Linked DNA regions of Homo sapiens: region 2 is linked to region 1. Evidence: promoter capture Hi-C in human tissues and cell types (Jung and others, 2019). All regions are on one chromosome and are shown on one strand. The core of a region is centred on a gene start or on the middle of the fragment in contact, and the rest is flanking DNA. Distances in the headings are between cores, read along the strand shown. Region 1 holds the start of BIRC5 (baculoviral IAP repeat containing 5). Region 2 overlaps TNRC6C (trinucleotide repeat containing adaptor 6C).

The links. Contacts are between HindIII fragments. The study calls those that stand out against the background at their distance.
Region 2: a contact is called between a fragment that was not itself captured here and the fragment with the promoter of BIRC5 in region 1, in 1 of the 25 tissues and cell types used here (spleen).

What each region holds. Positions count from the first base shown.
Region 1 is chr17:78,212,425-78,216,107 of GRCh38, forward strand. It overlaps BIRC5 (baculoviral IAP repeat containing 5), which reads left to right and starts at 1,829. Exons shown (of 4, transcript NM_001168.3): 1 at 1,829-2,003; 2 at 2,256-2,365. The coding sequence starts at 1,893. RefSeq lists an enhancer at 1,574-2,475. The HindIII fragment of the contact is 20,243 bases long and covers 1-3,683 here.
Region 2 is chr17:78,068,605-78,072,287 of GRCh38, forward strand. It overlaps TNRC6C (trinucleotide repeat containing adaptor 6C), which reads left to right. Exons shown (of 23, transcript NM_001142640.2): 8 at 2,481-2,561. Among named protein-coding and RNA genes, the nearest start is that of TMC6, 58 kb to the right of the region's middle. The HindIII fragment of the contact is 3,903 bases long and covers 1-3,683 here.

The DNA.
Region 1 (3,683 bases), core at 579-3,078:
CTGCAGCGAAGTTAAGTTTCCTGATTTTGATGATTGTGTTGTGGTTGTGTAAGAGAATGAAGTATTTCGGGGTAGTATGGTAATGCCTTCAACTTACAAACGGTTCAGGTAAACCACCCATATACATACATATACATGCATGTGATATATACACATACAGGGATGTGTGTGTGTTCACATATATGAGGGGAGAGAGACTAGGGGAGAGAAAGTAGGTTGGGGAGAGGGAGAGAGAAAGGAAAACAGGAGACAGAGAGAGAGCGGGGAGTAGAGAGAGGGAAGGGGTAAGAGAGGGAGAGGAGGAGAGAAAGGGAGGAAGAAGCAGAGAGTGAATGTTAAAGGAAACAGGCAAAACATAAACAGAAAATCTGGGTGAAGGGTATATGAGTATTCTTTGTACTATTCTTGCAATTATCTTTTATTTAAATTGACATCGGGCCGGGCGCAGTGGCTCACATCTGTAATCCCAGCACTTTGGGAGGCCGAGGCAGGCAGATCACTTGAGGTCAGGAGTTTGAGACCAGCCTGGCAAACATGGTGAAACCCCATCTCTACTAAAAATACAAAAATTAGCCTGGTGTGGTGGTGCATGCCTTTAATCTCAGCTACTCGGGAGGCTGAGGCAGGAGAATCGCTTGAACCCGTGGCGGGGAGGAGGTTGCAGTGAGCTGAGATCATGCCACTGCACTCCAGCCTGGGCGATAGAGCGAGACTCAGTTTCAAATAAATAAATAAACATCAAAATAAAAAGTTACTGTATTAAAGAATGGGGGCGGGGTGGGAGGGGTGGGGAGAGGTTGCAAAAATAAATAAATAAATAAATAAACCCCAAAATGAAAAAGACAGTGGAGGCACCAGGCCTGCGTGGGGCTGGAGGGCTAATAAGGCCAGGCCTCTTATCTCTGGCCATAGAACCAGAGAAGTGAGTGGATGTGATGCCCAGCTCCAGAAGTGACTCCAGAACACCCTGTTCCAAAGCAGAGGACACACTGATTTTTTTTTTAATAGGCTGCAGGACTTACTGTTGGTGGGACGCCCTGCTTTGCGAAGGGAAAGGAGGAGTTTGCCCTGAGCACAGGCCCCCACCCTCCACTGGGCTTTCCCCAGCTCCCTTGTCTTCTTATCACGGTAGTGGCCCAGTCCCTGGCCCCTGACTCCAGAAGGTGGCCCTCCTGGAAACCCAGGTCGTGCAGTCAACGATGTACTCGCCGGGACAGCGATGTCTGCTGCACTCCATCCCTCCCCTGTTCATTTGTCCTTCATGCCCGTCTGGAGTAGATGCTTTTTGCAGAGGTGGCACCCTGTAAAGCTCTCCTGTCTGACTTTTTTTTTTTTTTTAGACTGAGTTTTGCTCTTGTTGCCTAGGCTGGAGTGCAATGGCACAATCTCAGCTCACTGCACCCTCTGCCTCCCGGGTTCAAGCGATTCTCCTGCCTCAGCCTCCCGAGTAGTTGGGATTACAGGCATGCACCACCACGCCCAGCTAATTTTTGTATTTTTAGTAGAGACAAGGTTTCACCGTGATGGCCAGGCTGGTCTTGAACTCCAGGACTCAAGTGATGCTCCTGCCTAGGCCTCTCAAAGTGTTGGGATTACAGGCGTGAGCCACTGCACCCGGCCTGCACGCGTTCTTTGAAAGCAGTCGAGGGGGCGCTAGGTGTGGGCAGGGACGAGCTGGCGCGGCGTCGCTGGGTGCACCGCGACCACGGGCAGAGCCACGCGGCGGGAGGACTACAACTCCCGGCACACCCCGCGCCGCCCCGCCTCTACTCCCAGAAGGCCGCGGGGGGTGGACCGCCTAAGAGGGCGTGCGCTCCCGACATGCCCCGCGGCGCGCCATTAACCGCCAGATTTGAATCGCGGGACCCGTTGGCAGAGGTGGCGGCGGCGGCATGGGTGCCCCGACGTTGCCCCCTGCCTGGCAGCCCTTTCTCAAGGACCACCGCATCTCTACATTCAAGAACTGGCCCTTCTTGGAGGGCTGCGCCTGCACCCCGGAGCGGGTGAGACTGCCCGGCCTCCTGGGGTCCCCCACGCCCGCCTTGCCCTGTCCCTAGCGAGGCCACTGTGACTGGGCCTCGGGGGTACAAGCCGCCCTCCCCTCCCCGTCCTGTCCCCAGCGAGGCCACTGTGGCTGGGCCCCTTGGGTCCAGGCCGGCCTCCCCTCCCTGCTTTGTCCCCATCGAGGCCTTTGTGGCTGGGCCTCGGGGTTCCGGGCTGCCACGTCCACTCACGAGCTGTGCTGTCCCTTGCAGATGGCCGAGGCTGGCTTCATCCACTGCCCCACTGAGAACGAGCCAGACTTGGCCCAGTGTTTCTTCTGCTTCAAGGAGCTGGAAGGCTGGGAGCCAGATGACGACCCCATGTAAGTCTTCTCTGGCCAGCCTCGATGGGCTTTGTTTTGAACTGAGTTGTCAAAAGATTTGAGTTGCAAAGACACTTAGTATGGGAGGGTTGCTTTCCACCCTCATTGCTTCTTAAACAGCTGTTGTGAACGGATACCTCTCTATATGCTGGTGCCTTGGTGATGCTTACAACCTAATTAAATCTCATTTGACCAAAATGCCTTGGGGTGGACGTAAGATGCCTGATGCCTTTCATGTTCAACAGAATACATCAGCAGACCCTGTTGTTGTGAACTCCCAGGAACGTCCAAGTGCTTTTTTTGAGATTTTTTAAAAAACAGTTTAATTGAAATATAACCTACACAGCACAAAAATTACCCTTTGAAAGTGTGCACTTCACACTTTCGGAGGCTGAGGCGGGCGGATCACCTGAGGTCAGGAGTTCAAGACCTGCCTGGCCAACTTGGCGAAACCCCGTCTCTACTAAAAATACAAAAATTAGCCGGGCATGGTAGCGCACGCCCGTAATCCCAGCTACTCGGGAGGCTAAGGCAGGAGAATCGCTTGAACCTGGGAGGCGGAGGTTGCAGTGAGCCGAGATTGTGCCAATGCACTCCAGCCTCGGCGACAGAGCGAGACTCCGTCATAAAAATAAAAAATTGAAAAAAAAAAAAGAAAGAAAGCATATACTTCAGTGTTGTTCTGGATTTTTTTCTTCAAGATGCCTAGTTAATGACAATGAAATTCTGTACTCGGATGGTATCTGTCTTTCCACACTGTAATGCCATATTCTTTTCTCACCTTTTTTTCTGTCGGATTCAGTTGCTTCCACAGCTTTAATTTTTTTCCCCTGGAGAATCACCCCAGTTGTTTTTCTTTTTGGCCAGAAGAGAGTAGCTGTTTTTTTTCTTAGTATGTTTGCTATGGTGGTTATACTGCATCCCCGTAATCACTGGGAAAAGATCAGTGGTATTCTTCTTGAAAATGAATAAGTGTTATGATATTTTCAGATTAGAGTTACAACTGGCTGTCTTTTTGGACTTTGTGTGGCCATGTTTTCATTGTAATGCAGTTCTGGTAACGGTGATAGTCAGTTATACAGGGAGACTCCCCTAGCAGAAAATGAGAGTGTGAGCTAGGGGGTCCCTTGGGGAACCCGGGGCAATAATGCCCTTCTCTGCCCTTAATCCTTACAGTGGGCCGGGCACGGTGGCTTACGCCTGTAATACCAGCACTTTGGGAGGCCGAGGCGGGCGGATCACGAGGTCAGGAGATCGAGACCATCTTGGCTAATACGGTGAAACCCCGTCTCCACTAAAAATACAAAAAATTAGCCGG
Region 2 (3,683 bases), core at 584-3,083, 140 kb before region 1:
CCAACATGGTGAAACCCCATCTCTACTAAAAATACAAAAACTAGCTGGGCGTGGTGGTGGGTGCCTGTAATCCCAGCTACTCGGGAGGCTGAGGCAAGAGAATTGCTTAAACCTGGGAGGCGGAGGTTGCAGTTGCAGTGAGCCAAGATCGCCTCACTGCACTCCAGCCTGGGCGACAGAGCGAGACTCCCTCTCAAAAAAAAAGACACAAATGTGCGGTCATCTAGAAAACACTGAGATACACATCTCATATATACATGAGCTACATGAGACGTGTATCTCATTTTTTTCTAGATGACTGCCCAATTCAGTCCACATTCAGCATGACTGAATTTCAAGTAGGTCACAAACTTAAATATTAAAAATATGAAAACATGAAAGAACATTAAAAACAATTTTGGACTCAGAGAGGCCTAACTATGACCAAAATCTAAAAGCCATAAAATAAAATTTTTTTGTGTCAATAGATAAATGTAAAAACTGTACATGACAGAAAATACCATAATCAAAGTCAAAAGAAAAATAGCAAACTGGAAAAATATGTTTATAACTCATATCATAGAGAGGGCCAATCCCCTGATACATAAAGTCCTAGAAACTGATTTAAAAAAAAAATCAGCCAGAAACCCAGTAGAAAAAGGAGCACAGAATGTGAAGAGTAGCTGGTCCACAGAGAAGGAGCACCAGTGGCTCCTAGACACGGACTCACAGGAAGGCAGTGCAGTTCCAGACAGCACTCAGAGACACCTGCCATTTTTCATCTCTCAGACCCACAGAAAGCCAGCGTTTTGATTTTTTTATTTAAAAAAATTTTTTTAGAGACAGAGTCTTGCTGTGTCACCTTAGGGGCTGGAGTACAACCTTGAACTCCTGGGCTCGAATTGTCCTCCTGCCTCAGCCTCCTGAGTAGCTGGGTCTACAGGTGCATGCCACTCTGCCCAACTAATTTTATTTTTTATTTTTTCTGTAGAGACAGAGTCTCACTTTGTGGCATTTATACAGTTTTGTATTGCAGCATTTTTGTAGTAAAAAGATAACAATAATTTATGTGTACATTGATGGAGTAACAAGTTAATTATGTCACTTCTACATTATACAGAACTAAAAGGAAATTCTATCTATGTATTGATATGAAAAGATCACTAAAGTACATTGTTAAATTAAAAGCAAGGTGCAGAAAAACATGTACAGCACACACCCTATTTTGTGGGGTAGGAGGAAGAAAACGTGTGTGTGTGTATGTGAGTGTGTGTATGCATGCATGCACACGTAGTGTATCAGCTTCTACAGAATGTTCTAAATTCTCTGGAAGGGCAAATAAGAAACTGCTATGAGTAGTGCCTCTTCGAGAGAACAGGAACTAAGCAAATGGGGTGGCATGAGATGAAAACTTTCTTTATACCTTGTTTATACTTTTGAATCGTGTGAATGTATTCATGTTCAAAAAAATATAGTTTATAAAAGCATTCAGTTAATAATCAGCAGAAACCAGAAACTAAAATCAGAGCTCTCCGCTCATGAGGAGTAGAAGTGATTACAGACATCAAAAAGAATCCTTTTTACAGTTGGGCTGGCAAATAATCCAGTTAATGATGGGACCAAAAATAGCAAATTGGTAAATTAAAATCTTGACTAATCTGGCTCTGGCAGCATAGTAATGATTGAAATAGCCCCAAAATAAGCTAGTTCCTTGAGGAAAGAAAGCCTGTTTATAGAGCTCCATATGCTCCATGATATAGCTGTGGCAGGCTCAATTGTGAAAAACACTATGAAGAATATTTTTGGAAGGGAATTTTTTTCATATTGTAATAATGCATCATTAGAACCTTTGCATTTATAGGCTCAGAGGGAAGTTATTGAGAAGCCTCCTGGCTCTTCTGTGGTGCCGAGCCCTCCCCCACCCCCACTGCTCTTTCTGTAGCTGACCTTTTTCCTCATCCTCTCCTTCACTGACATTTTCCTCCTTATTCCTTTTCTCTACCCTATGAGCTATAAGTAACAAATAGTTAATAAAATTAACAGGTTGTTTCATCCTTTCTTCTTGCTGCCTCTTTACTCATTGGAATAAACCCCCTCATTTTATCATTTTTCAGAATAAAGCTTAGAAAAGGCAAAAAGTGTAATTTTTAGTAAACTTCACATAGGGCTGTGTTCAAGGGAGCGCTTAGGATTATTGGATAGTAAAAGTAGTCTATATTTGTGATAAACTAAATTAATTATCTGGGAAAGAGAAATAATTATCTTGCTTTAAGTTCATAAATTGCACATATATACCAACCTGCAAATGTACCTTGATGCTTTCCGTAGCAGTAGCCACGAAATACTGTTAGGGAGTTTCTGGAATACAGCATTATTCAATGTTAATACAAAAAGATCCTGTGACTTTTAAATGACCCTGAATTTAGGCTGTCTCCCATTTCTGGTAGAAATGCATTAAAATGTAGCTCATGGACTTCCCCCTTTCCCACACTTTGTTCAAGGGCATGAAGACGTCTGGCAAGCAGGATGAGGCCTGGATCATGAGCCGGCTGATCAAACAACTCACAGACATGGGCTTCCCGGTAACTGGCGTCGTAGTTTACTGCTACCCACCATGCTTCCCAAAATGAAATGCCCTCATTGTTTCCTCTCCATGTTTGTTATGTGTGTCAGAAGACACCAAGATTGTTTGAGGAATGAGATATTGACATCATCTAACTCTTAAATCTCCCTTTTACCTGGGTAGTTTGGGTTAGAGATCATTGCTTTGAACTACAGCAAAGACCCACACAATTTCTATCAAAAAGGGTGTGAGAGCCTTTTCCTAGAATAGAAAATGCTTTTTTTTTTTGGAGACAGGGTCTTGCTCTGGCACCTAGGCTGCAGTGCAGTGGTGTGATCAAGCAGTCCTCCTGTCTCGGCCTCCCGAGTAGAGCTGGGACTACAGGCGTGAGCCACCATGCTCGGCTAATTTTTGTATTTTTGGTAGAGACGAGGCTTCACTGTGTTGGCCAGGCTGGTCTCGAACACCTGGGCTCAAGCGATCTGCCCGCCTCGGCCTCCCAAAGTGCTGGGATTACAGGCATGAGTCACTACGCCCAGCCGGAAAATGCTGTGTGATTTTTAATTTTCATTGGTTTATACAGTTTTATGTTTACTTTTAATTTATAATTAAACGTGAATTTCATTAGTGTATAGAGTATATTGACAGAGATCACAAAAGAAAACTTGATGTAAAGTACTAAGGTTTCATATCCAGAAAAAGTATCCTAACCAGACCTACTTAGTTCCTAAGTTTCCAGTCATACGTAGGGAGAATTCATAATTGTAGGGCGTTCCCCTGAAAATACCACAGTCTGTTCAATTCCTGAGATTGGATGGCAGTTCAGATGGCAAGGGATGTCGCCCATATTCGCCATGTATTCGCTTCATGGGACTTCTTTCAAAATCCTTATTCAAATTAGTGTTTATCTTTCAGTTACCGTAGATGCTTCTAAAAGAATGAGTCCAGAATGGCCTCCATGTAGCGGAGGAACCCCATCCTTCACACTGGGCACAGGCCCTCTGTATTGGGCAGGGCATTGTGTTGGTGGCCCAGGCTCTGCCTGTGTGAGTGGGCAAGAGGTTGACGGTGGCTTCAGCGTGTCCTGATTTATACTGTCTCAGTTATCATGGCACCCTAGCGGCTTCAGTCATCCCCTGAG